Linked DNA regions of Homo sapiens: all the other regions are linked to region 1. Evidence: promoter capture Hi-C in 16 types of primary human blood cells and fetal thymus (Javierre and others, 2016). All regions are on one chromosome and are shown on one strand. The core of a region is centred on a gene start or on the middle of the fragment in contact, and the rest is flanking DNA. Distances in the headings are between cores, read along the strand shown. Region 1 holds the start of GLRX (glutaredoxin). Region 2 overlaps RIOK2 (RIO kinase 2). Region 3 overlaps LNPEP (leucyl and cystinyl aminopeptidase). Region 4 overlaps ERAP2 (endoplasmic reticulum aminopeptidase 2).

Region 1 (6,495 bases), core at 1,144-3,643:
AACCATCTGTAAAGCAGGACTGATTCTCCCCTAAAAAATGCCCTCACTTCCCACCCTCCAAGGTGTATTTTCTGAGAGTGCCTGGGAGTGTCTCACACAAGCCAAAGGAGAGTCCACACGTGTTAGTCCACACGCACACCCTCTTTCCATCCACAGCACTTGACGCATCTGCAGTCCCCATGGCGGCTTTCCATTGAGATGCCCTAAGGTCCATGCTGGGTTTCAGCTCCTGCTGTACAATGCAGCAGAGGCTTCTATGCTTGTCATTTTTCACTGAGTTGAAGCCACAGCATTTTCTGAGAAATGGAGAGGACACCCGTTCTTTGCCATCTCTTTGTCTCCCATTTTCCACATGGTGCCTCACAAAAAAATTGCCTTTAGCTTGTGCCTTATGGCCATCTGTCCTAAGGCTTCAGACACCAGGCAGTCCCCGGGACTGAGTGAGAGGCAGACAATAGTCTCCCTGGATCCCAGCCTCTTGGGGCAGGTGACTAATTTGCAAAAGGTCAGGATACCTAGCTAAATGGTCATTTGGTGACATAGAGGCCATGATTAGTGTCTGCCAACAATTCAGCAGAATGGTTGACAAGGTCAGATAACAACAAAATGAGAGAATGGAGGTGAGAAAGGTACAGACAGTAAATTTCATGAAAGGGCAGAGGCAGGAAAGCAGGAAATGGGGAGTGGTGGTGGTGGTGGTGGCTTTTAACTTGAACACAGTGGCAGGCTGAGGCACCAGGAAGGGAGGAGCCAACAACAGACCGGAGAAGAGAAAGGCTCTGAGTGAGTAGCAGGTGCAAGTCGTGTGGATAAACCTCAGGCTGAGGGAACTTAAGGCAACAGCCTGAGGGCCCTGAAACAGACCCTGGACCTCCTGGCAGGGGCCTCTGGAAGGAGCCTGGCCACAGGGTTCTGAGGTAAAAGAATGAAAAAAGAGAGGAGGCTCAGACTCTGTGGCAGAGCCTACTTTGGAGGGAAGTGGGAAGTGGGAAGTCCGGAGCCCTGACCACGTGAGGGGCCTCCCAGCCCTGCCACATCCTTTTCTCTGGACAGAGCTGTCACTTAGCTCCCCCTCCGTGACTCAGAATCTGGCTTTCTCATTTTGCCATTTTAATTCTAGTAACGATGAGAGTCACAGTAAAAAGCTGCTTCTGGGAGTGGATTTTCTTCCCTTCCCTTGATCGCAGTATGCTTGGGATTCCTCTTACGTGGCAGTCGTGGTGTCCAGCTCTGGCCTTGGCCCCGCCTCTTTGAAGATACTCTGGTTTCACCATAAAACTTCCTGGGGAAAGGATGATTCACGTTTAAAGGACATAGTTTTTCCTTGATTTGTTTATTTAAGCTACCATACACTAGAGGGGGCCGGAACTAGACCCAGGAGTAGAGGACTTTGCTTTGCGGGATAAGGAGAATGGGCACCCTGGGGAAGAGCGAAAGATTTCCTACTGTTACAACCCGTGTCTTATAACACTTGAAGTGAATGTGGTGTCTGAGTTACAACACTACTTCCCCTCACAAACAGTTAAAAGCAGAGGGTCACAAACATAGGCTCAACCAGAAAAAAAGATTCTCATTTCATCTGTAGTTTTGTATCAAGGATTGTGTTGGAATTTGCCTCCATATTAAACTGCTGTTCAAGGGTTACCAACTCAAATGGTTATGGGGTGAAGCCGGTGTCTCAGGCATGGGCCTGTCGTTGGGACCTGTGGCAAACCAAAGCCACTACTTGCCCTATACAAAGGGGGCAACAGCTGTCAGCCCCAGCAGCTTCCACTAAAAGGTGCAAGCTCTGTATTGCCCGACCTGACTTTTCAGAGAGAAGTTTTAAGTCCGAATTGTTTTGTGAGACCTCCAGATTTTTAAATACTGAGAATGAATTCCATTAAAAAGATCACAACAACAAACACCCACCATACAGTCCAAGCAAAATGCTGTGAGAGCAACCTTCATGAGGAGTGCAAAGTCACAGTTTCAATTTCACTTCTTCTAAAGAGATTTCCAAGTGTTCTGTTTCTTAAGTGATTCTGTTTGCATTTTAAAATACAACTGTATCTCCTAGAGGGAAAACAAGAATTTGCTCTAAGAAGTCACTGCCTCCTCAGCCCCTTTGTGAGTAAGCACTTTATGCTTCCCCAGAGGTGACTAAACTCTGATCATTGCCAATGGGCAGGCACTCCCCAAATGTCCAAGGACAACAAAGATACCCAGAGTGTCTTTCATAGCTACCAATGATTAAATAGCAAGTATTGCATTCCTGGGCATTGCTAACTAGTGAAGTATACCAGATGGAAATGTCTTCGAAGCTGTCCCTTTAAAACTCGAGCAAGCTACCAGGCAAACTCCGCCTCCAGGGAGGTTCCTTATTAAATAGGAGCCAACTGGCTGGGTCGGGGCTCAATACCCCAAGCAATACCTGCAACTGAGGATTCTTCCCGGGGAGACCGCAGCCCATCGGCATGGCTCAAGAGTTTGTGAACTGCAAAATCCAGCCTGGGAAGGTGGTTGTGTTCATCAAGCCCACCTGCCCGTACTGCAGGAGGGCCCAAGAGATCCTCAGTCAATTGCCCATCAAACAAGGGCTTCTGGAATTTGTCGATATCACAGCCACCAACCACACTAACGAGATTCAAGATTATTTGCAACAGCTCACGGGAGCAAGAACGGTGAGTTTCATTTTAAACGGCTAGGGAAAGGCTCCCGGATTGCCTTTTCTTGTCAGAGCTGTGCCTTTCTTTAGGATAAGGCTGCGGCTCCGTACTTCAAGGCGTCCAGAGGGCTGTGCGGGGCGGGGGGTGTGGGGGAGGGCGCCTTAGAGAGGATCTCGGTCACTTGAATGAGCGGCGGCACTGCAGCCAAAGGTCTTCACGGGGCAGAAGAGGGAGTACAGCTGATGTCTGCTGTGCGGCAGGGTAAGTGGGACCAGCAGCTTGCCGGTGAGTCCCTGGGGAATTATCTAGAGTCTTTGTTTTAAGCACTGCCAGGAAATGACAGTTTTCAGTTGGCAGGGCTGGAGGTGGAAGCTGGGGTGGAGGGCCGGGTGTGATGTGTTTGTTATTTAACATGAGATTCATGTTCTTCATTCTTTTCTCTAGGCTTTCTTTTTCTAATTTGCTCATTCTTCCTTATCTAATTCCTCCCACTGGAAAAATCTAATGTACCGTTATCTGCCCCTTGTTCTAAATTAATTATGGATGTTTCCAGGCCCCACATTGTAGGGAATCATAGCCTGGAGTTCTGGCCTGGCTCTTATAATGGCTGGCTGTGTGATCCTGGGCAAGTCACCACCCCAGTAGTCCTCAAAGATCCCAGCTGCAAGACCAGATTAGGTGACCTCAGAGTCCCATTTGCTACGAATAGACTGTGGGACCCTCTAAAAATTGCTCTCCTCCATCCGAAAGACTTCCCTCTCTTCAGCATCCTTGGCTTTGCGTCCTGGGCTTCAGGAGGGATGCCAGCCACATCACCTGTATCAGTTCTGCTGTGAGGTGGGATGAGAAATGTCCCACCAGCTCAGCTAAGTTCTCTTTTACGATGCACGAATTCTACAGCACAGTGTTAGGCCAAGCACATATCCTATTTCAGTTTTAGTTTGACTTACAAGGTTGTCTCTGGGTTCTGAGTATAAAGCATTGGAGGTTGTTTCTCTCCCCTTCTCTCTAATAAGAAGTCAGCATTTTGGTGCAGAAAGGGGGCTTAGTGTGTTATCCTACTGCTGTGTGCTGAGGTCCTGGAGTATACACAATGACGAGAGAAGCTCTTGCTGCCTAGTGGGACCACCAGCTGCATAGGATGCCCAGGCCCTGAGAGGTGTAAAGGGCAGTGCAAACACTACTACGGGCCCCACTGTGGCTGCCACCCTGAGGACCTTTTAGCCATTGGTTCCCAAACTTTGCTGCACATTAGGATCACCTAGAGAGCTTTTAAAACAATCCTTATGCCCAAATTATGCCCCTCAATAACTAAATCACAATGTCAGAGGTGGGAGCCAAGCATTAGTTTTGTTTGTTCGTTTGTTTTGAGACAGTTTCATTCTTGTCACCCAGGCTGGAGTGCAATGGTGCAATCTTGGCTCACTGCAACCTCTGCCTCCTGGGTTCTCCTCAACCTCCCAAGTAGCTGGGATTACAGGCGCCCACCACCATGCCCAGCTAATTTTTGTATTTTTAGTAGAGACGGGGTTTCACCATGTTGGCCAGGCTGGTGTCGAACTCCTGACCTCAGGCGATCCACCTACCTCGGCCTCCCAAAGTGCTGGGATTAAACGGGTGAGCCACCACACCTGGGATTTTTATTTGGAAAAATCCCTTGGGGATTCCAATGTGCAACACAATTGGGATTATTGTTCTCAGCCCAACAGCATCTATTTTCCAGGAGGTAAAGCAAACCTCTTCATGTGTTCATTTAACAATTGCTTTTTTTTTTTTTTTGAGATGGAATTTCGCTCTTGTCGCCCAGGCTGGAGTGCAGTGGTGTGATTTTGGCTTACTGCAACCTCCACCGCCCAGGTTCAAGCAATCAAGTAGCTGGAATTACGGGCACCTGCCACCACACCTAGCTAATTTTTGTATTTTTATTAGAGATGGGGTTTCACCATGCTGGCCAACCTGGTCTCGAACTCCTGACCTCAGGTGATCCACCCACCTCAGCCTCCCAAAGTGCAGGTGTGAGCTACCACACCTGGTCAACAATTGCTTTTTCATTTCTTTGTAGAACAACAATATTTCTTGTAGTAATCTTTTAAGGTTTTTTTTTTTTTTTTTTTTTTTAAGAGACAGAGTCTTGCTCTGTCACCCAGGCTAGAGTGCAGTGGTGCAATGATAGCTGACTGCAGCCTCGAACTCCTGGGCTTAAGTGACCCTCCCACCTCAGCCTCCCGTGGCTGGGACTACAGGCATGAGCCATCATACCCAGCTAATTTTTTAAGTTTTTGTACAGATGGGGGTCTTGTTATGTTACCCAGGCTGGTCTTGAACTCCTGGCCTCAAGCTATCCTCCCACCTCAGCTTCCCAGAGTGCTGGGATTACAGATGTGATCCACCTCAACAAGCCTGTTTTTCATTTTTAGAAAAATGTTTTTCACAGATTCTTGAATTCTGAGTGCATTCCTCCTAGGGGAAGAACAAGCCTTTTAAAGCTGCATGTTTGATCCCCAACAGGGAAGTGTTTGTATTCAAAGGGTCTGAAAGCTCCCGAGGGTTTTTTTTTTTTTTTTTTTTTTTTTGAGACGGAGTCTCCCTCTGTGCCCAGGCTGGAGTGCAATGGCGCAATCTCAGCTCACTGCAAGCTCCACCTCCCGGGTTCACGCTATTCTCCTGTCTCAGCCTCTCGAGTAGCTGGGACTACAGGCGTCTGCCACCATGCCTGGCTAATTTTTTGTATGTTTAGTAGAGACGGGTTTTCACTGTGTTAGCCAGGATGGTCTCAATCTCCTGACCTCGTGATCCACCCGCCTCAGCCTCCCAAAGTGCTGGGATTACAGGCGTGAGCCACGGCGCCCGGCCTGATCCTGCAGTCTTAATTATTCTATAAAGTAGCTGTATCTAGTAGGTAATCAGCAGGACATGATTATGGAAAGTTAGTGGCTTCAATCAAGCCATGTACTTGGTAAAACCTGTTTTTGTTTTGCTATAGTCACAGCTCCTAAATTAGTGCCTTCATTTATTTCTCCTCTAATGCACTTTTCTTTACATAGATCTGAGTTTCTGAACTATATCATTTCCCTTCTCTCTGAAGAACTTCTTTGGGCATTTCTTGCAAGGTGATTCCATTGGTAACACATTCCCTCAAGTTTTGTTTACCTTAGAAAGTATTTCTCCTTCGCATTTGAATGATGATTTTACTGGATGCAACAAATATTTTTAAGCACCTACTATGTACCAGACACTTTTATGTACATTGGGGAAAAAATTCTGCCTTTTCTGCCATGAAAAAAACCCTTCTGCCTTTGTTGAACCTATATTCTAGTGGGGGAGACAAACAAATACAGTAATAAAACAGTATGTTGGGAGTTGGTAAGTGGCACGTGCTATGAGGAAAAGTAGGAAAGGTAGGGAGGAAGCATCAGGGTCCAGTTTTAAATGGAGCCATTGGGTCTCACTGAGAAGGGAACATTCGAGCAGATATCTATAGGAGCTGAGGGAGATGGGTGTACACAATTTACAGGTAGAGTGAATGCAAAGGTCCTGGGGTAGACGTTTGCCTGGCAGGTTTGTGGAATAGTAAGGAAGCCAGTATAGTTGCAGCACTGTGAGCCAGTAGGAGAGTTAGTGGAGGTGAGGTCTGAGAGCTAATAGGAGCTTGGAAGAACTGTGACTGGTACTCGGTGTGAGATGAGATGCCCCTGGTGGGTGCTGAGCAGACGAGTCACTTGATCTGACCCCATTTTGAAAGGGCCACTCTGGCAGCTGTGGGGAGAAGAGACAGTAGGGCAAAGGTGAAGGTTGAAGCTGGGAGACATTGGGAGGCTATAGTAGTTATTCAGGTGACAGATGAAGG
Region 2 (6,495 bases), core at 1,735-4,234, 1.4 Mb before region 1:
AAACATCTTCAAGAGCTTCCTGCTCTCATCAGGATAAAATATAAAAGTATTTGGTCTACATTTTAATGCCTTCTCTATCCTAGAAGTATCTTCCAGCCGCGTTTGCATGAATTCTATATGCTATCCCATCTGAGCTGCTACTGTACTCAGCTATTCTCTGTGGTCAGTACTTTCTTGCATATGTGCCATTTTCAAATCTTTTTCTTTCACTAATATCCCCTTGTCTGTTTTCTCTGTATGCCCACATCTTTTAAAAGTCAGTCTCTAGTTTTGCATCTTCCTTGGAACTGATCCCTCAGCTAGAAGTATTCTTATTCTGCCCTGAGCTACCTTTTTAAGCACTTATCACTTCTTAACTTCTAATAAACTTAGATGTATACCATTTTTTAAAATTTCCATCATGAGATAAAAATTTCTCAGAGGTAAAAAGCACATATATATATATATATATACATATATATATATATACATATACACATGCAGAAGAGCATGTAGGATAGAGATATATATATATGTGCTTTTTACCTCTGAGGAATAAATTTAAAAATATATATATAATATATATATTATATATATATTATATATATATAATATATATATATTTTATATATATATATTATATATATATATAAAATACTTTTAAGTTCTGGGGTACATGTGCAGAACGTGCAGGTTTGTTACATAGGTATACACATGCTATAGTGGTTTGCTGTACCCATCAACCCATCCCATCTACATTAGGTATTTCTCCTAATGCTATCCCTCCCCTAGCCCCCCACCCCCCGACAGGCCCCAGTGTGTGATGTTCCCCTTTCTGTGTCCACGTATTCTTACTGTTCAACTCCCACTTATGAGTGAGAAAATGTGGTGTTTGGTTTTCTGCTCTTGTGTTAGTTTTCTGAGAATGATGGTTTCCAGCTTCACCCATGTCCCTGCAAAAGGCATGAACTCATCCTTTTTTATGGCTGCATAGTATTCCATGGTGTATATGTGCCACATTTTCTTTATCCAGTCTATCATTCATATATATATATATATCCTCTACGATGCCTACATGTAGTACTTTCTCATTAAATACCTGCTTAATAAATATCTGGCATATCTGTAGTTTTTAAAGACAAATGTTTAGGTGTCATCAAGTATTTTAGCATTGACCAAATGTCATCAGTATGTCTAGCACTCACAGTTCCTACTCTTGAAATGGAAAGCCAATACAAATATCAATGATTAGATTTCAAATTGCAATTAAAAATATTTTCAAGAGACGGAAGTGATTATGTCTCAGAATTAGTTGGAGAACTGCATAGTCAGGAAAGCTTCAAGGAGAAGTTAATTTCGCAGGGTTTTGATAGACAAGGCTTTGTGTTGATTATGATTATATAATGATTCCTTTAATTTCAGGTTGAAATGGGCATGAAGAACCATGAAATTGTTCCCGGCAGTTTGATTGCTTCTATAGCCAGCCTTAAACATGGTGGCTGTAATAAAGTTTTAAGAGAATTAGTGAAACATAAACTCATAGCTTGGGAGCGTACCAAAAGTAAGTATTTTGAGGCACCATTTGTGATTTTTCAGGTAATTGGTTTCCACCAGAGCAAGTGTTCCAAAAGTCAAGAAGTAGAAGTTGCCAGACTAGTAAAGCATTAGACGAAGAACTGACAGAACACACTTCGGCCATATCCTATTAGTCAAAATAATCACAGGGCACACCCAGATCAAAGGAGGTGAAAAAAGAATAGTAGTAAGAACATGTAGGTACTGCAGAAGAGCATGTAGGTACTGCAGAAGAGCACGTAGAGTACTGCAGAAGAGCATGTAGAGTACTGCAGAAGAGCATGTAGAGTACTGCAGAAGAGCACGTAGGTACTGCAGAAGAGCACGTAGGTACTGCAGAAGAGCAGGTAGAGTACTGCAGAAGAGCAGGTAGAGTACTGCAGAAGAGCATGTAGAGTACAGAAGAGCACGTAGGTACTGCAGAAGAGCACATAGAGTACTGCAGAAGAGCATGTAGAGTACAGAAGAGCACGTAGGTACTGCAGAAGAGCACGTAGGTACTGCATAAGAGCAGGTAGAGTACTGCAGAAGAGCAGGTAGAGCACTGCAGAAGAGCATGTAGGTACTGCAGAAGAGCATGTAGGTACTGCAGAAGAGCAAGTAGGTACTGCAGAAAAGCATGTAGGTACTGTAGAAGAGCATGAAGAGCATGTAGGTACTGCAGAAGAGCATGTAGGTACTGTAGAAGAGCATGAAGAGCATGTAGGTACTGCAGAAGAGCATATAGGATAAAGCTATTGTGGCTACCATCTTTGGAAAATACAATCAGTAGTCATACCCTAGATCATTACTTCTGAAACCATCTGTGGTGAAGGATTAGTTTTTTCCAACCTATCACAGATCCTTACTTTTATAAAATACAAAAAAATAATTACTAGAAAAATGAAATGGATAACAGATATACAAAAACAGACATAAATTCTAGGTCAAATTGATATACAAATTGAACTTAAATTCCTCCTTTTATCTTGTCACAAACACTTACAGACCTGTCTGTAGGTCACATTTTGATTATCAGTACACTGGAGAAGAAATGCAAATTATAGGAAGAAATTGGAAGCTTGTGAGCCTGGGCAGTTTATCTTTTTCCAATGAAGACTTTATTGTTAAATCTTTCTTATGACTTGAACTTACGTGACTTGGTTGTACAATGTAACTGAAATATGGTCTTTATGCTTTGATTTTTGTCTAGCTGTCCAGGGCTATCGGTTGACAAATGCAGGATATGATTACCTAGCTTTGAAAACACTTTCTTCTAGGCAAGTAGTTGAGTCTGTTGGAAACCAGATGGGTGTTGGCAAAGAATCAGGTAAGTGCTAATAGTACTGTGCAAAGTATTTTCTTTGCTTTAGTTTATGTTTTCCCTTCAGAAACCTTTCCTCTTTTAATTTTCCCTTTTTTCTAACTAAACAGTAAGTTGGAAAGTTGATTGGAAGCAGTACAAATCAGAAGGTGTCCTTAATTAGTAGGTTATTATTTTCTCTGAACGTCTATCACTGAAAATTCATTTATACCAGGAATTAATTTTCTTCTAATAACTCCCAAGATATATCATTATTTATGTGCAAATATACCAGAATCCAAAATTCAAAACACTTCTGGTCCGAAGGTTTTGGATAAGGAGGGATACTCAATCTTTATTAGGAAAAATGACATTTTTGATACAAATAAAATTAGAGAAAGTTAGAATTGTTTTAACTGATTGGAATAAACGTGTAATAATGGTTGTTTTTGAAATTTTGTCTCTAGATATTTACATTGTTGCAAATGAAGAAGGACAACAATTTGCATTAAAGCTTCACAGACTAGGAAGAACCTCGTTTCGAAATTTGAAAAACAAACGCGATTATCATAAACATAGGCACAATGTGTCATGGCTATATTTATCTCGTCTCTCTGCCATGAAGGAATTTGCCTATATGAAGGTATTTATTTTATTTTGTAGTCATGCATTTTTTAGCCAAATAATACATGTGTCTCAAAGGCCTTAATGACAAGTGTGATTCTGTTGTCCCCACATCTCTCTAACCTTAGACTCAATTCCTACAGACAGACTCAATCTTAAATAACTCTGTTGATTATTTGGGCTCTTTTAAGTGATTTCCTTCTACGTTAAGGTATTTTAAATTGTTACTAATGCATAAGGGCAACACATTCTGTAATGCTGACAAGATGAAAGAGCCAAAAGTAATTAATGATGCTGTTACCTCACAAATATGTATGTGTGGATGTATATATATCTATTCAATATATGTAACTATACATATGTCTGTTTCTAATTGAAAACACCAGGTAATTATCATCTGTAGAAACCTTAGTGTCTCAGATAAGTTGGCTAGTTTTTTGTTTCACATAAAGGAACAAACATTTATAGATTTATATGTATATTAAAAATGGTAAAAATTGGCTGGGTGCAGTGGTTCATGCCTATAATACCAGCACTTTGGGAAGCCGAGGTGGGCGGATTACTTGAGGTAAGGAGCCCAGCCTGACCAACAAGGTGAAACCCCATCCCTACTAAAAATACAAGAATTAGCCGGGGATGGTGGTGGCCACCTGTAATCCCAGCTACTTGGGAGACTGAAGCAGGAAAATCACTTGAACCCAGGAAGCAGAGGTTGCAGTGAGTGAAGATTGTGCCACTGCACTCAAGCCTGGGCAACAGAGCAAGACTCTGTCTCAAAAAACAAAAATGGTAAAAATCTTTAGTTTTTAAGAGGTAAGGATGAAGAGAAGTGGGTTAAAGGATACAAACATACAATTAGAAGGAATACATTCAATGTTTGATAGCAGAGTAGGGTGACTATAGTAAACAAAATGTATTGTACTCAGGAGATGAACACACTAAATACCCTGACTTGATGACTTCTCATATATACTTAACAAAATGTTACATGTACCTCATACATTTATACAAATAGAAAAAAATGCTTAACCTGGCAGATGAAATGTCAAAATCTCAAAGACGGTTTTCTCAGGGTTAGGCCTATTCATTGCACTTCAGGTGTGCTGACCCCTGCAGTTTCCCCAAATATTGGAACTTGACTGCATATTTTGTGGCACTGGCGGACTACATTTATACTGTCCCCTGACATTAAAAAAAAAAATCCTTTATTTTTAACTTTGCCTTCAAAATTAAGTTCAGCATAGATTGTTAAATATAATAATATCCAAATTAAATATATCCAACAATAACTAAGTTAAACAAAAGATAATATTGTGTTTTTATAATCCTGCCAGTAGGATTTGTCATAGTTTATCTTCATTTTTCAAAACAATGTGAATTAAAGATTGCTACAGTGTGTGAACACCTGTTTCTTGAGGATTCAGCTTGTTCTTTGAGTGGGTTATATACTTAAATTTTCACTAATCATGGGAGATTTCTTAAGGCAGCATAAATTAGTAATACTGATACCATACATGTCAATGTACTTCTTATACTAATAGTTTGTATCTTGTAATATTCAGTCAGTAAATGAGCAGCTTGGTAGGGATCATTTACACATTTTCCCAAAAGGGTAGTAGGTGTTTTTCAGGATATTTATATTGAAGGTATAGGAATGGAATCTGGTTGCACATAAATGCACTCCTTAATGTATTGATTATTCATAAGAGAGGAACAAGAAGATAAAGATTGGGCTATAGCATGAGGTCTAGGCGATAGCACAAGTTCTAGACAAATATTCACAATCTTTAAGTTTATCACGTGCTATTGATCTGTCTAGGTATGCTCAAAATGGTCTACACTGAAAAAAAGTATTTAAAAACAAAGCAAAGAAAAATATCTGGGAAGTGGGAAGTGGTTTGGTTCTTGTTCACAGAAGGTAAGCAATAGACAACCTTTTGAAATTAATTGCTGGGGTAGTGTAGGGTGAAGGAGTGGATGCCAAAGAAATAACCAGTACGATCTGTGTCTTAAAGTTGAGAAGATAACACATGAAACAGAACCTTTTATTTATTTATTTATTTATTTATTTATTTTCAAGACAAGGTCTCACTCTGTCACCCAGGCTGGAGTGCAGTGGCACGATCACGGCTCACTGCAGCCCCTACCTCCTGGGCTCAAGCCATCCTCCCACCTCAGCCTCCCAAGTATCTAGGATCACAGGCATGTGCTACCATGCCTGCTTTGTAGAGACAGGACCTTGCTGTGTTGCCCAGGCTGCTCTCAAACCCCTGGCCTCAAGAGATTCACCCACCTCGGCCTCCCAAAGTACCGGGGTTATAAGCGTGAGCCACCACTGCAAGTCTAAGAACAATTTTTTTTTTAATTATATACTGAATTTAGAGAAACTTCAGTAAGTGATAGAATAGTTGATGGAGGAGGTTTCAGGTAGTGAGTGGAGCTGAGTGGAGCCATGAAGCTTGGATATTATTTGACCCTAAGACAGTGCATTTTGGCAGAGAAGTGGTATGGGCAATGACATGAATCTATGTGAGTCCTATGTGTTTAGGTGACACTGAGGTGACTGTCCTGACTGCGTTTCTTGGTGTGTATTGGAGAGAATATTGGGAGAACTAGGACTGTACAGGTGGATTAAAGAGTTTTGAAAACCAGGAAAAGTTTATATTTACAAACTGAAAAGAAAATTTACAGCCAATGTAAAAAAAAACTTTTTTTGAGGTGTAGTCTTGCTCTATCACCCAGGCTAGAATGCAGTGGCACGATATCAACTCACTGCAACCTCTGCCTCCCGGGTTCACGCGATTCTCCTGCCTCAGCCTCCCAGGTAGCTGGGACTACAGGCATGTGCCACCACGCCTGGCTAATTTTTTTGTATTTTTAGTAGAGATGGGGTTTCACCATGCTGGCAGGCTGGTGTCGAACTCCTGACCTCAACTGATCCACCCGCCTCGGCCTCCCAAATTGCTGGGGTTACAGACGTGAGACTCCATGCCCATCCCAATGTATATATTTTTAAATGGAATATTAACATCAGC
Region 3 (6,495 bases), core at 1,082-3,581, 1.1 Mb before region 1:
AAATACACAAAGTAAATAAATACAGAAAGTCTGAATTGCTTCAGTGCAGGACAAAAATGGGACAAGGGGTTTTTTGGATCATCCTGAATTACTGTGTCCAGAAAAAAAAAAATTGAACTTAACTATAGATGCTTCTTTTAACATCCTCAGGCAGGAATGTAAACTCCAAAAACTTATTCCTGTGGAAAAGTAATTTTCTTTATCCTGAGGTTCACAGAAAGAAACTGTCTAAAGTGAAGACTCCTATGATACAGTTGTATCCCCCATCCCGCCCCCGACACCCTGCAAATTCACATATTAAAGCACTAACCCCCCGCCAGGTGCGGTGGCTCACGCCTGTAATCCCAGCACTTTGGGAGGCCGAGGCGGGTGGATCACGAGGTCAGGAGATCGAGACCATCCTGGCTAACACAGTGAAACCCCGTCTCTACTAAAAAATACAAAAAATTAGCCAGGCGTGGTGTGGGCGCCTGTGGTCCCAGCTACTTGGGAGGCTGAGGCAGGAGAATGGCGTGAACCCGGGAGGCGGAGCTTGCAGTGAGCTGAGATCGCGCCACTGCACTCCAGCCTGGGTGGCAGAGCAAGACTCTGTCCCCCGCGCCCCCCGCCAAAAAAAGAAAAAAAGCACTAACCCCCATTGTGATTGCATTTGGAGACAGGGCTTTTAAGATGGTAATTAAGGTTAAATTCGGTCATAAGGGTAGAGCCCTAATCCAATAGGATTGGTGTCCTTGATAGAAAGAAACAGCAAAGCTCGCTCTCTCCACATATGCACAGAACAAAGACCATGTGAGGACACAGCAAGAAGGTAGCATTCTGCAAGTGAGAAAGAGAGCCCTCACCAGAAACTAACTATGGTGGCCCCTTGATCTTGGACTAGTAGCCTCCAGAACTGTAAGTAAATAAATATCTGTTGTCGAAGCCACCCAGTCTGTATTACTTCATTCTAACAGCCAGAGCAGACTACTACACTGCCTATACTATGTTCCCATATAATTACTCTATAAATATACTAAGGAGTAGGGAGAAATGGAGATTTTAAGCGGGAAGGAAGTAGTGAATCAACGTATTCATAGTACCGCACACAATAATTTAAGTTGTGTGGCCATTAATGAGTTGTTTAGGTTTGTTTTCCTCAAAATGTCATTTGATTTTTAACCTTTGATTAACATCAGTACAGAAACATCCACTTTTTTCCCTCCTGGATAGTGTCAGGTCTAAAATTCATGCTTTCATACCTCAGCTCATACTGCAACTAATTCATAACACTAGTTATTAATATTTTGTTACGTCAACTAATAGAGAGTCCTGCCTTTCAGTGGCTTTGCCCAGTTGACAACCATGACACAGCTTAACCTTTACTCTTCCCATAAGGCTACATGAAAGCTTGTGGGACCCATTCATTGCCTTCTCACCAACTCTATGGTATATTAGGAAATTCCTTTTTAAAAGTTGAATTTAATTGGCTTGGGAATTGTTTTTGTGGCTCTCTAATGAAGAGCAAAGTGCCCCAATATAGGTCAGCCAGAAGTCCTTGCAGCACTGTAGGAAGAGAAATTGATTTAATTGCACCACTTAGGTCTCAAACGCACAGCAGCTCTCTAGCTATGAAATAAGAAGATGAAAGAAGAAAGGAGGTAAATGTTGGTTCACTCTTTAATGTTGATTTTGAAAATGCTTCAGAGTAAGAGACTCCTTCCCTCCACATCATCTTCCTTTCCCTCTAACACTGAGAGGGTTTCCTATTTAGCACTGTCTTCTCTGTACAAAGCATAGGGTTTGAAATACTCCAAGTACTCAATAAATTCATTTCAGTGGAAAGGGAAGCTGAATGAACACTAATAAGAATGTTCCAAAAAATGATTTGGAATTACTCTATTTGCTATGGAAAAGTTTACAGAAAAAGGAAAGGTGAGGGGGAGGATGGAAAAGGAAAGGAGGGAGGGAGGGAAGGAGGACGGAAGGATAGACAGACTGACTGACCTCTAATTTAAGAGTCCAAACAAAACTGTTAAATGTTTGTTTTGGAGTTGTTTGGAGTAATATTACTCTCAGATAACATTTATTAAGCATCTAATATGTGTGCAACAAAACACTATGTTAGACGCCAACCATTGTAGCAAATATAAAAGAACTGTGTTTTTGTCTGCTATATGTAATTAATGTTTTTCGGCTGAACAAATAGAACCTATTTGTATGAATAATGAGGTGCTGCATATTGCATTTTCTTGAAGGCACCATGAAAGCATACCTGGGCCAGAATTAAGTTGGATGTAGGAATGTACAGTTCCTCTACTCTTTAGGCTAGTGGCTCCCAACCTTTTTGGAACCAGGGACTGGTTTTGTGGAAGACAATTTTTCCACAGACAGGGGTGTGGCGGAAGTGACAGAGGCAAGAGCATGAAGGGATGATGGTTTTGGGATGAAACTGTAACACCTCAGATCATCAGGCATTAGATTCTCATAAGAAGCATGCAACCTAGATCCCTCCCCAGTGCAGTTCACAATAGGGTTCATGCTCCTATGGGACTCTAATACCACCCTGATCTGACAGGAGAGGCGCCCAGGCGGTAACGCTCACTTGCCCACTGCTCACCTCCTGCTGTGAAGCCCAGTTCCTAGCATGGTCCTTGACATGCAAATTGGGGACCCATGCTTTAGGCAACACTTCCATGAAAGTGTTGCAAATTCAAAATTGTTAATAAATATGAAATGGAAAGAATCCTCCTATAATGGCCTCAAGCCCTTAGTAAAGAATTAGGATCCAAGAAACACCATTAGTTCCCAGCTTTTCAAAACCTCACTAAGGCTGGAATATGCTCAAACCACCACTTATCTTAGACCACTGCTAATTTCAAAAAAGTTTTAAGTTTTGAATGTACATTTTAGGTTTTTAACTAAAGATATTAAGATATTCTGGTAATATCCTTAAGAATCAGAGAGCTAGTGAATAAAGAGCCAGGATTTGAATATGGCTGTCTGAACTTTTCACTTCACTATTATACTATACTATACAGTAGTCAACAAAATAAGGTAGATTTATAAATAGATCTCCAAAATGGAAAAAAAGAAAAAAAGCTACAAAACCAAATGTATCTCCAGTAAAAGGTGTGGGACTGGACCTATAATTCTCAAAGTATGATGGTTTTTGGAGAGGATGCTAGTCTGTATGTTCATATTAATAATCTTTTCGAGAAACAATTCCACAAGAATGTAAGCTCCTCAAAATCAGGGACCATGCTACGTTAATATTTGTAAATTTAAGAACAAAGCTTAGAACAAGGTAGCATACAGTAAAGGAATATTTTAATGCATTTAATGTATCTATTTGGGAGGGCATCTTTTTGAAAATAGAATAGTTTTTTAAAAAGATACACGGGCACAAGTCAAAAGCAAAACAAATAAAAATACTTATTAATGGGAGCAGTTTAAAACAGAATGCAAGAAGAATCTGGGCTGGGCGTGGTGGCTCACGCCTGTAATCCCAACACTTTGGGAGGCCGAGAAAGGCAGATCACCTGAGGTCAGGAGTTCGAGACCTGCCAGGCCAATAGGGTGTAACCCTGTCTCCACTAAAAATATAAAAATTAGCCGGGCATGGTGGTGCATGCCTGTAATCCCAGCTACTCGGGAGGCTGAGGCAGGAGAATCACTGGAACCCGGGAGGTAGAGGTTGCAGTGAGCCGAGATCGTGCCACTGCACTCCAGCCTGGGAGACAGAGCAAGACTCCATCTCAAAAAAAAAAAAAAAGAGAAATTTGTATTAAAATGTTTACACTATGCTTCTTCCCGGATCACCACTGCCCCTTCCCCAATAAAAGAAGAATGAAGCATGGTGACCTGAAAAATGATTTATGCTTTGCTATATTTTCTGTCTAGGTGATAAAAATAAGAGATGAAGAACAAATTACTAAAGTAATGTGAAAAGGAAAAAATTCAAAAAGAGAAAAATGGAAAATCAGAAAAATAGAAAAATTAGGTAGATTTGAATCCTATTATTCTCTGGTTTCAGTAAAATAGAATTAAACCCAAAGCACTCATCTCCCAAGATTTTTTTTGTACATTATATTCTCTCTATATGTAATATTTCTGTATTTAGTTTTCTGGTTGCTATCTGCAGTGGAATATACAACTAATATAAAATATTTATAATAATGTACAAAGTTGTAATAATAACCACGGAGTTCTACTGAACAATTAGGCATTCAAAAACATTGTCAATGCCACAGAGAGTGAAACACATTGTCGATTCTACAGAGGAAGTCCTGTAGTTAAAAATCTGTCTAAAGGACATCTCAAAAGCATCAAATTACCAAGTACAATACAATACTCCATGAACTAAAAAACAGACAAATAGCACGGGAATAAATACTGAGAGCATTTGGTTGCTTTATCCTTGTATTAATCATATGACCATGCCTAAAATTCACATAAAGATACGCTCTTTTAGTCACTTAAAAGACAGCCAATAACCCTGTTGAGGGAAAAATCAAATTATTTTAGCTCCAATTTTCAATTTTCTTTTTCTTTTCCTAGGTTAAATTATTTACATTTATATTTATACAAACTTGTCCCCCCAATCAAATTAACAAAAAATCTTTATATTCCATAGTATTTCTTAAATCTTTCCTCACAATATAGGGTGCCAGTCTTTAACAATGCTTAGGGCCCCTGTTAGATTTAGCAATATAAAGTAATTTACATTGTCAATGATGCCTAAATATTTATGCTTATTAATCTCTCAAGCAAATCTGCATAGCTGCAAATACTTTCACAAGATCTAAAGATAAAAAGTTTACTTTTAAATTCCATCAATTCGCTATACTATAGTCTTAAAAGAACATCTTAACCTATAATTCCTTATTTAAAATGAAAAATTACATTAGACATAATGAGTATCTGTGAGTTATTTAACAAAGAATGCATATCACTGAATGGGATCTGCAAAGGAAATTTATAAGAACTCTTCAATGTATACAGAAAACTTGTGAGTTAAACAAGAAATCTCAGTTGGTGAATACATTTATTTGCCAGATCTCAGAAGGATCTGAACAAAAAATTACCTTGCAGATAATTTTTTGTAATACTTTTCCATGTGACTCATTGGATTGATAAAACACCAGGTATACGACAGTCTTCAGTCTTTATAGTAACAACTTTGTCATCAATTTACAACTGACTGAGGGCCAGTTTGCTTATCATTAACCAACTTAAAAAATTAGTTATGGATTAGTCAAAAGGCTGGGATAGTAACTACATTTTTTCTACTAATAGTCATTGTCATTCGATGATGTGCCAAGACAAGATTCTATGCATAAATTCTTCAAGTCTTTATCGCAATAATATTTCCTGAATTGGTAATTAATTAAAACAGAATTATGCCCAACTGCAGTGAACAACTGGACTGGAACAAAGCTAGCCACACTTTAGTGAACATGTGCTTATTTCCATCTAATTCAACATGCTCTATTATCTAATCCCCAAGTCACACTAGACCCTCTTTTCTATATTCAATTATTTTTCTGTGTGCTTCCTACAAGTGGAATGCTACCAAGCCTCTCAGTATCCTGTACTGATGCAGATGGAAGTGAGGCTGCTGCTTTAAAGAGCAATGCATTTCTTATTCCCACTAATACCCAATACTCTATTGTTCAGTTTGAGTTATCTTCATAATGTAGCTACCCAATCTAGATACTAAGGCGCTGAGCCTCCAGTTTAAAAAACAGAGAAACTACTAATAAGAGGGGGCCAGCCCAAACTCCTGCAGGTGATCTTGATAAATGTGGACACACTAGCTCCTCTCACCAAGACTCAAGTGTCATGGCAGCCTCCCTTATTTCATCATTGAGGCCCTTCCGACAATTATAGGACAAGCAGACACCAGACATGTATTACATTCTTTCTGTCTTCAAAGCACTTTACCAATACCAACTTAAAAAGATATTTAAACATCTCCTTTTGATTGAGCTCTCAAGATTGAGTTCTCCTCATCATTCCCACTAATCTCTATAAATTTTTCCTCTAAAGAGGATCTTGGAATGATTTTGTAAACCAAAAATAAAATTCTAGGCCCCTCAACTGACCGAATGGACCCCTCTGACTGAACGGCCAAGGGCATTCCAAAGTAAACATGAAAAACTAGCTCAGGCTATGATGGGAAGCGGGGGTCAGACGCACCTCATTATACTCTCCTCCCTTTGGAATTCTGGCACAACTGACCAGCATTAATATTAAAACAGAGATCTTAAGACTGACGAAACACTCTTTGTAGCAATAAAATACCAAATTCTAAACTGACTCTAGTATAACATCACACAACAGATAGCAGGCTGTGAAAGAAATAAAGGTATTTTACCCCAAAATATATTTCTTAGACCTATTTTGAAATGGCCCTGCAAAGCTGTCTCTTGTGTGGAACATTCTATAGAAAAAGACCTTTCTGATCTCTTTTTTTTTTTTTTTTTTTGAGATAGGGTCTCACTCTCTTGCCCAGGC
Region 4 (6,495 bases), core at 2,022-4,521, 1.1 Mb before region 1:
GTAGAACGTTAGAACTCAGTCTCACCTTGACCCCTGATGAAGTGAAGCCACTCAGAGAGTGGAAATCACAAACTATGTAGGCTACAAGGTATGTACTCATTTTTACAGTAGTTTCAAAGTGATCTTCCAAAAGACCTCCTTCAAGTTCAATTGTCTTAACCTACAGAAAGGAAAAGGAATAATCAGTACTTGAAAACTGGAGTATTTCATAACCATGCCTATGACTTATGGCAGGTGAGTTAGAGGCAAGCCTCATACTCTGAAGGACAATCGATGACCTCCTAGGGGGGCAATGGCCTCTCCTAGTATTCTGTAGCCTCTCTTACCTCCATTGCTTTTACCCCAACACTCTGTTGAAAACAAAAAGCCCTGCTTTTGAGATCCCCAAAGCACAAAAATGCCAAATCTCATTTTGTTGATTGAAAGCATAAAAATATTACATATTTCTATTTTCTTAAAATGCAATAATTTCCAACACTGGCATCAATTCAACTTCTGTGCTTTTAAGTAAAATACCAGATAATGGCCCCTTTCCCTTTATTTGTTGTACAAGAAGTACACCCCTGTGGAAAAAGAAAACAGGAAGTGAAACTGAACTAGAGGCTGCACATTATCTTTTAATCCTGTTATGTGGGTGTGAGGTTGGTGTTGTTTCTCAGGTGAGGAAACAGAGACTCTGAAATGTTCACAGAATTGTTGGAGATCACATGGCTAGTTCCACGGTAGGACCAAGATGTGGATGTGACCGTGTGACTCCAAAGATGATGCTCATTCTCTCACTTGCTGCGTGACAGCTTGAGTCATGGTCTTATTTTATCTTTGCTTCATTGATTCAGCAATGAAAGCAGTCAGGCCAAGGAGGTCATTAGTAATTTAAGCTTCTGTCCATCTCCTGAGGAAGCAGAAACTTTTCAGCCTGCAGTCTCGTCAGCTGCATCTATCAAGATCACTGGGTAATGACTGAATTCTATCTTCATTTGGTCTGGGCAGCTTGTCTCAGAGATGGTCTTCACCATGGTACAATGCCCCCAAATACTGAATGGATACAGATCCAATAATCTGAAAACATTTTCTTCAAGCTAGTCACAACTCCTAGACAGGCTCTTCCCCACCTCTATCCCTGAGCCCTTTCTGGGAGTCAGGCTTGTGATGATGCTGACTGCAGCTTATTAAGCATGTTTGACATGTTGGATAAGATTACGATTTGCTTTGGCAAGAGAAAATAGCTTGAAGCATTACCATAAATTATCTAGTCTACTTTGATGGCAAATGTTTTTGCTACTAAATTCTACAGAATTTAATTTTGCTGAATTCTATTTGAAATCTATTTCTAAGCTCCAATAAAGAGGAAGGTACTGATAAAATACTGTAAGAAAAGTCAAAGTATATACAGGGCTGTAATTTTTAAGAACTCTATCCAGCAAATTAATTTTCCCCAACAACCGTCTCCATTTTTAGGAAGCTGATTCAACCAGTGTTCTCTGGATATCCACTCCCAGCAGAGGAGGTGCTGTCTTATGGTAGGGGCTGAGAGCTGGGGTATTATTGTGGTCTTCTGACCAAACTCAGCAGCAAAACCATTTAGTCAAGTGTGTGGAGGGGTTACTGGCAGAGGCGTGAGGCTGTGAGACTATGGGGAAATACGTCTGGGCTACTAGAAGGCTGGTGGCAGAGATGGTTCGGAGGCAAATGGGCGTTTGCTATGGTTTATCCCCACCAGATGAAGACGATACAGTCCATGGAGGCTGAGTTTTGTTCAGAAACCTGGAGTGACCCATGTAGATTAACATTGCCTTAAATAGACGTGTATGGGGTATTAGTGTAAGTTCTTCCAGGATGGTGATGTAATCTCAAGTACAAAACACTGACTGCTAGACAAGGATTTAGCTGTTTTCTCAATACCAGCAGAAGTTTACTTGCATGGCAATTGTCACCAGTGAGTGTGTGTTTCCTTACAGGATGAAAGAGACAAATAAGTGTCCAAAAGATATGCTGCCTCTACTAGCACTTGGACCCTGCAGGGTCCCTGAGTTTGAGACCAGGCTGACTAACGTGGTGAAACCCCGTCTCTACTGAAAATACAAAAAAAGTTAGTCAGGTGTAGTGGTGGGAGCCTGTAATCCCAGCTACTTGGGAGGCTGAGGGAGGAGAATTGCTTGAACCCAGGAGGCTGAGGTTGTAGTGAACCGAGATCACGCCATTGCACTCCAACCTGGGCAACAGAGAGAGACTCTGTCTCAAAACAAACAAACAAACAAAAAACTTGTATAACCACAATTAATAATTTTCATAAATAAATTTAAGAATTACTTGTGAAACTTAAAAGAGGGGATTTCTAAGTTCCATCATAGACTTCTAGATCAGAATTTCTTGGGTTGGGGCCCTGCAGGGTCCCTGAGGTCCTTGCCACTGCAAAAGGGGTCTCTGGACCGTCAGCAGTGGCTGGAGGCTTGTTGGAAAGGTAGAACTTCAAGCTTCAACCCAAGACCTCTTCTTGAATCAGAATCTGAGTTTTAGCAAGATTCTCAGACCATTAATCTGGACCCTAAAGTTTGAGAAGTACTGCTCTAGGAAATTCTGAATTTCATCCCTGGCCAAGAAACACAGATTTAAGATACTGTTTCCATATGAACACAAAATATAAATCACTTTGCTTGGGAAAAAAAAAGCTTCCTGTGTAACAATGCCCCAAACAGAATGATGTTAACGTCTAGAATGATTGAAATTATGATGATAGATAGATAGATAGATAGATAGATAGATAGATAGATAGATAGATAAAAACAAATTAATGGCTGAAATCCTGAAAGCAATTTTAAAAAACAAACGAAGACTGAGTCTCAACTTGAGAACAATTTCTAAAAGTTTCTGGAAGTGGACATACCTTTGGCATGTTGGATAGTGCAATATGCCTGCTCTCTCTTCGTATCTTGATTGAAAAGTTGGCTTTGAACAACGGTTCATCAAAGCAAGGGAAAGCCATGCGTGCCTGGGTTGGCTCAAAATCTGTTACTGCAAGAATTCTGTGAAAAGACCCACCCCCAGCCAAAATGCACAAGTGAAATCAAGAAGAGAAATGAATCTGTACATTCAGCAAACAGCTTATCAAACCTGGGGGTAATAGACTTGATTTCTCAAACTGCAATCTTTGTGAATCTCAACTGTCTCTTTGAGGAAAATGAAGGTAAAATCTTATTTAGCAGCCATCAATCATAAGCAATGCCCTGTTTTGGGAATGCTAATTACATTATTTCATTCATACTCAGGTCAAACAAGGATATTGAGGCTCAGACAACTTGAATGACCTTAGCAGGATCCGCAGCCAGTAAATGACTGAAATAGTACACATGTTGTCTACATGTCTTCAAAATTCACTAGGAAATTAAATGTTCAGTATTGTCTCTAAACCTGAAAGGGCCTCAGATAGACATTTGAGTAATTGTGTACATGAGTGATGTCCTAAGTTGTATTTCCAGGAAGCAGATCCTGACTTATTGAGAACATCCTGCCAGGAGAAACAGGTAAGGGAGTGAGGGAAGCAGGACAGGGAAAAGGGAGAAGCCAGTCAAGGGTGCAGGACAGGCAAAGTCCCAGCATCAGCCTGATTCCCAGGGAGCTCTGGGATGCAAACTACGCCTTCACGTGTCCCCCACTGGAGGCAAGGAGCTGGACTTTCATATTCTTGTACCATTGTTGGCTAATGGTCTGTCTGTGGCACCTGTGCCCCCAGGTACTTCTAGTTCTCTCTGCTTGCCACTCTTCAGATGATGACAGGTATAATAGATATATACTCTGATAAACTTCTCTACCCCAACACCAGGATATGCCTGAAACTGTACAGTTACAGATTTACTCTTTGGACTTTAAGCTTCAATTAAGAAGTGAATTTGGAGAGCAGATTTTGACTGGAAAAGGAGGGGGGAATAGAATAGCTCAAATAAGAGGGAGAGAGAGGTCAGGAGGGAAAAAAGAGAAGCTGTCAGGATATTTTACTTCAGCTTGCTTTATTTCTATGACACAGGCTGGGAAACTGAGGCTAGGGATGTAAATGATTCACTTGTGGCCTCAAGGTTTTATTTGTATTTGGTAGCAGTTTCTGCAAATGTAAAGGAATTCTAACTGGCTGGAATAATTTTCACTCACATGAAATTTTGGTTGTAACAAGTCTACATTGAAAAAACAAAAAAACCTGAATCTTTGTTGCTTACACGATTCATTGGAACTCTACATGCAAAGTGTGACCTTCTGCATCTCAAAAGAACCACTTTCAACTGAATTATTTGTGTAGTTTAGATGAAGAAGTGAGGAAGAAAGAGAGAGAGATTCATAAGATTCAATTGACATTGTGCAGTACATTATCATACATGTCAGACCTACTAGGTGACTGAGTATGAAGGGAACTGACTAATTAACCATAAGGAGCATCAGGAATAGCCTGCAATTAATCACGGGAGGCATGCTGGAAAGTCCTACAGCTTTACTCCAAATATCTCCCCCTCTCATCTCCCACAGCTCCCAGAATAGTATCCCTAAGATATATGTCCTTTGGATGGGGCCTTCGGCATTTGAAAAAAATGAAAAAAGCCATCATTGTTTATGTGGTGCCTTAGTGAGAAGAAGTTGACACTTTTCCTATCCAATACTGTGCTGAGCCTGAAAACAAGCCCCTGAGGATTGTGGCTGCAATGAGGGGAAGTGTCACCAAGGGAATGTGGAAAGAGAGGAGCCTGGGGAAGAGTTGTCCTAGGTGGATGGCTGCAGGCTGTGCAGTGAGCACCCAAGTGGGGAAGGGAAGAGCAGGATGTAGTAGACACAGCTAGTCACTTCCTGATACCCATTTCCCTTCCTTGGTTCCAGTGGAATCCTGATTTTATTCAGGAAGGCAACAAGTCCAGATAAGAGAGTTACTTCTTACAGGCTACCTTGTGACTTGGTGAGGCTATGACTCATTCTGGTCTAGCTGAAGTCATTGGGTGGGAAATCTTTGTAAAGAGTGTTAGATTCAAGTGGAATGTTTCTTTTTGCCCTTATCTCTCCCCCGTGTCCCCCTTCTTCCTGCCTAGAATGTGGACTTGATGCCTAGAGGTGCAGCAATCATCTTGCAAGTATTAGGAAGAAAGCCATAGGATGGCTGAGCAGAAAGACAGAAGGAGCCTGGGTCCTGGATGACTCTGAACAGCACTATAGCAATCTGAGCTGCCCTACTTCTGGACTTCTTGTTGCATGAGAAAAATATGCCCCTGTGTGGTTAAGCCATGGAATTTAGATTTCTCCAACTGGCAATTGAACACAATTCACATAACGTGAGAGTGCACTGAGCCAGACTCCTCTTACCTCCCAGATGGATCCTGGCCCTGGGAAACCAAGCCGTCCACTCTATGAAGCATCCTTGATTCTTCTATTTCCCTCACCTCACATGACCAATATGTCAGCAATCTCTGTTGTTTTGCCCTCCAAAATAACTGCCAAGTTCAATTGTTTCACTCCATAAGCACTGCCACTAGCCTGGCCCAAATTAGCATCACTTCTTACCTGAACTACTGCAATGACCTCCCAATTGATTACTCTGCTTCTCTATAACATACCCTCAACATAGACTTGATCTTTATAAAGCATAAATCAGAGCAGAATCCTCCAGTGATTTCCCATTTCATCTGAGTTAAAGTCAAAACTCCTTACAAGACGCCCCAAGGCTCCACATGATCTGATCCCTTTCTCCCTCTTGTTCGCTCTCCTCAGCTTACACTGGCCTTCCTCAACCAATCCCACTTTAGAGCACTTGCCCCGAGATGTTCTCATAACTGTCTCTTTAAAAAAAAACTCAGCTCTCAATTTAAATTCACTTCCTCAACAAACACTTCCCTGCCCAGTCAACTGAATTAGTTTCAATCTCCAGCCTCATTTTCTACCTTTCTTGCACCTTGTTTTATTTCATTCATAACACTGGCCAATTACCTTGCCAATTTTATTGATTTTCTTGTCCTGGTTGTCTCTTCCATCAGATCCCACCATTATACATTCAGTGCCTAGTGCAGTGCCTGGCACATAGTATGTGCTCAATGAATGTGACTTGATCAAATTGACTATATTTCTCAATTTTCCAAACTAGTTCCTTGTTTCTGACTATTCGATATGAGTCATGGCTGTTACCTAGGCAATGTATACTTTGTCACTTCCTCTCTCCCAATCCCAGTCTCACTTACATTTCCTTCTGGTCCCAGATGAAGACTCACTTCCTTTGAGAAGCATTCCCTATTTCAGCCCTCTCTGCACTGACCATCTCTTTCCCTAGCACATAAGCATATCTATCATATCAGTCATATACTGGCCTCTCCTCCTAGTTATTCACCCTCTAGCTGTTTATGCCTCTGAGTCCTGTCTTTACATCTCTACTGTGGTTTCCTTAAGGAATGGTAGATCTTTTCCTTCTTCTGGGTTCCCCATAGTTCACTGGATTTCTCATAAATGGCTGCTGAAGTCTGCTCCTGGCAAAGA

The links. The method cuts DNA at HindIII sites, captures the fragments that hold promoters and counts their contacts. A CHiCAGO score of 5 or more calls a contact.
Region 2: a fragment that was not itself captured here is called in contact with the fragment with the promoter of GLRX in region 1 in 1 of 17 cell types (total CD8 T cells); the score reaches 5.9 in total CD8 T cells.
Region 3: a fragment that was not itself captured here is called in contact with the fragment with the promoter of GLRX in region 1 in 1 of 17 cell types (non-activated CD4 T cells); the score reaches 6.1 in non-activated CD4 T cells.
Region 4: a contact is called between a fragment that was not itself captured here and the fragment with the promoter of GLRX in region 1, in 2 of 17 cell types (activated CD4 T cells and non-activated CD4 T cells). The highest score is 7.8, in activated CD4 T cells.

The regions. Positions count from the first base shown.
Region 1 is chr5:95,818,624-95,825,118 of GRCh38, reverse strand. It overlaps GLRX (glutaredoxin), which reads left to right and starts at 2,393. Exons shown (of 3, transcript NM_001118890.2): 1 at 2,393-2,663. The coding sequence starts at 2,457. RefSeq lists enhancers at 1,145-1,645, 1,876-1,965, 3,882-4,021. The HindIII fragment of the contact is 7,969 bases long and covers 1-6,495 here.
Region 2 is chr5:97,174,100-97,180,594 of GRCh38, reverse strand. It overlaps RIOK2 (RIO kinase 2), which reads left to right. Exons shown (of 10, transcript NM_018343.3): 2 at 1,402-1,540; 3 at 2,747-2,863; 4 at 3,304-3,479. It also overlaps the pseudogene RNU1-73P. Among named protein-coding and RNA genes, the nearest start is that of RIOK2, 5.9 kb to the left of the region's middle. The HindIII fragment of the contact is 736 bases long and covers 2,617-3,352 here.
Region 3 is chr5:96,945,377-96,951,871 of GRCh38, reverse strand. The region is part of intron 1 of LNPEP (leucyl and cystinyl aminopeptidase); the gene reads right to left. Among named protein-coding and RNA genes, the nearest start is that of LNPEP, 13 kb to the right of the region's middle. The HindIII fragment of the contact is 1,886 bases long and covers 1,389-3,274 here.
Region 4 is chr5:96,880,320-96,886,814 of GRCh38, reverse strand. It overlaps ERAP2 (endoplasmic reticulum aminopeptidase 2), which reads right to left. Exons shown (of 19, transcript NM_022350.5): 3 at 2,885-3,023; 4 at 26-160. It also overlaps a transcript of ERAP1 not described here. Among named protein-coding and RNA genes, the nearest start is that of ERAP2, 7.1 kb to the right of the region's middle. RefSeq lists a silencer at 2,165-2,339. The HindIII fragment of the contact is 1,199 bases long and covers 2,672-3,870 here.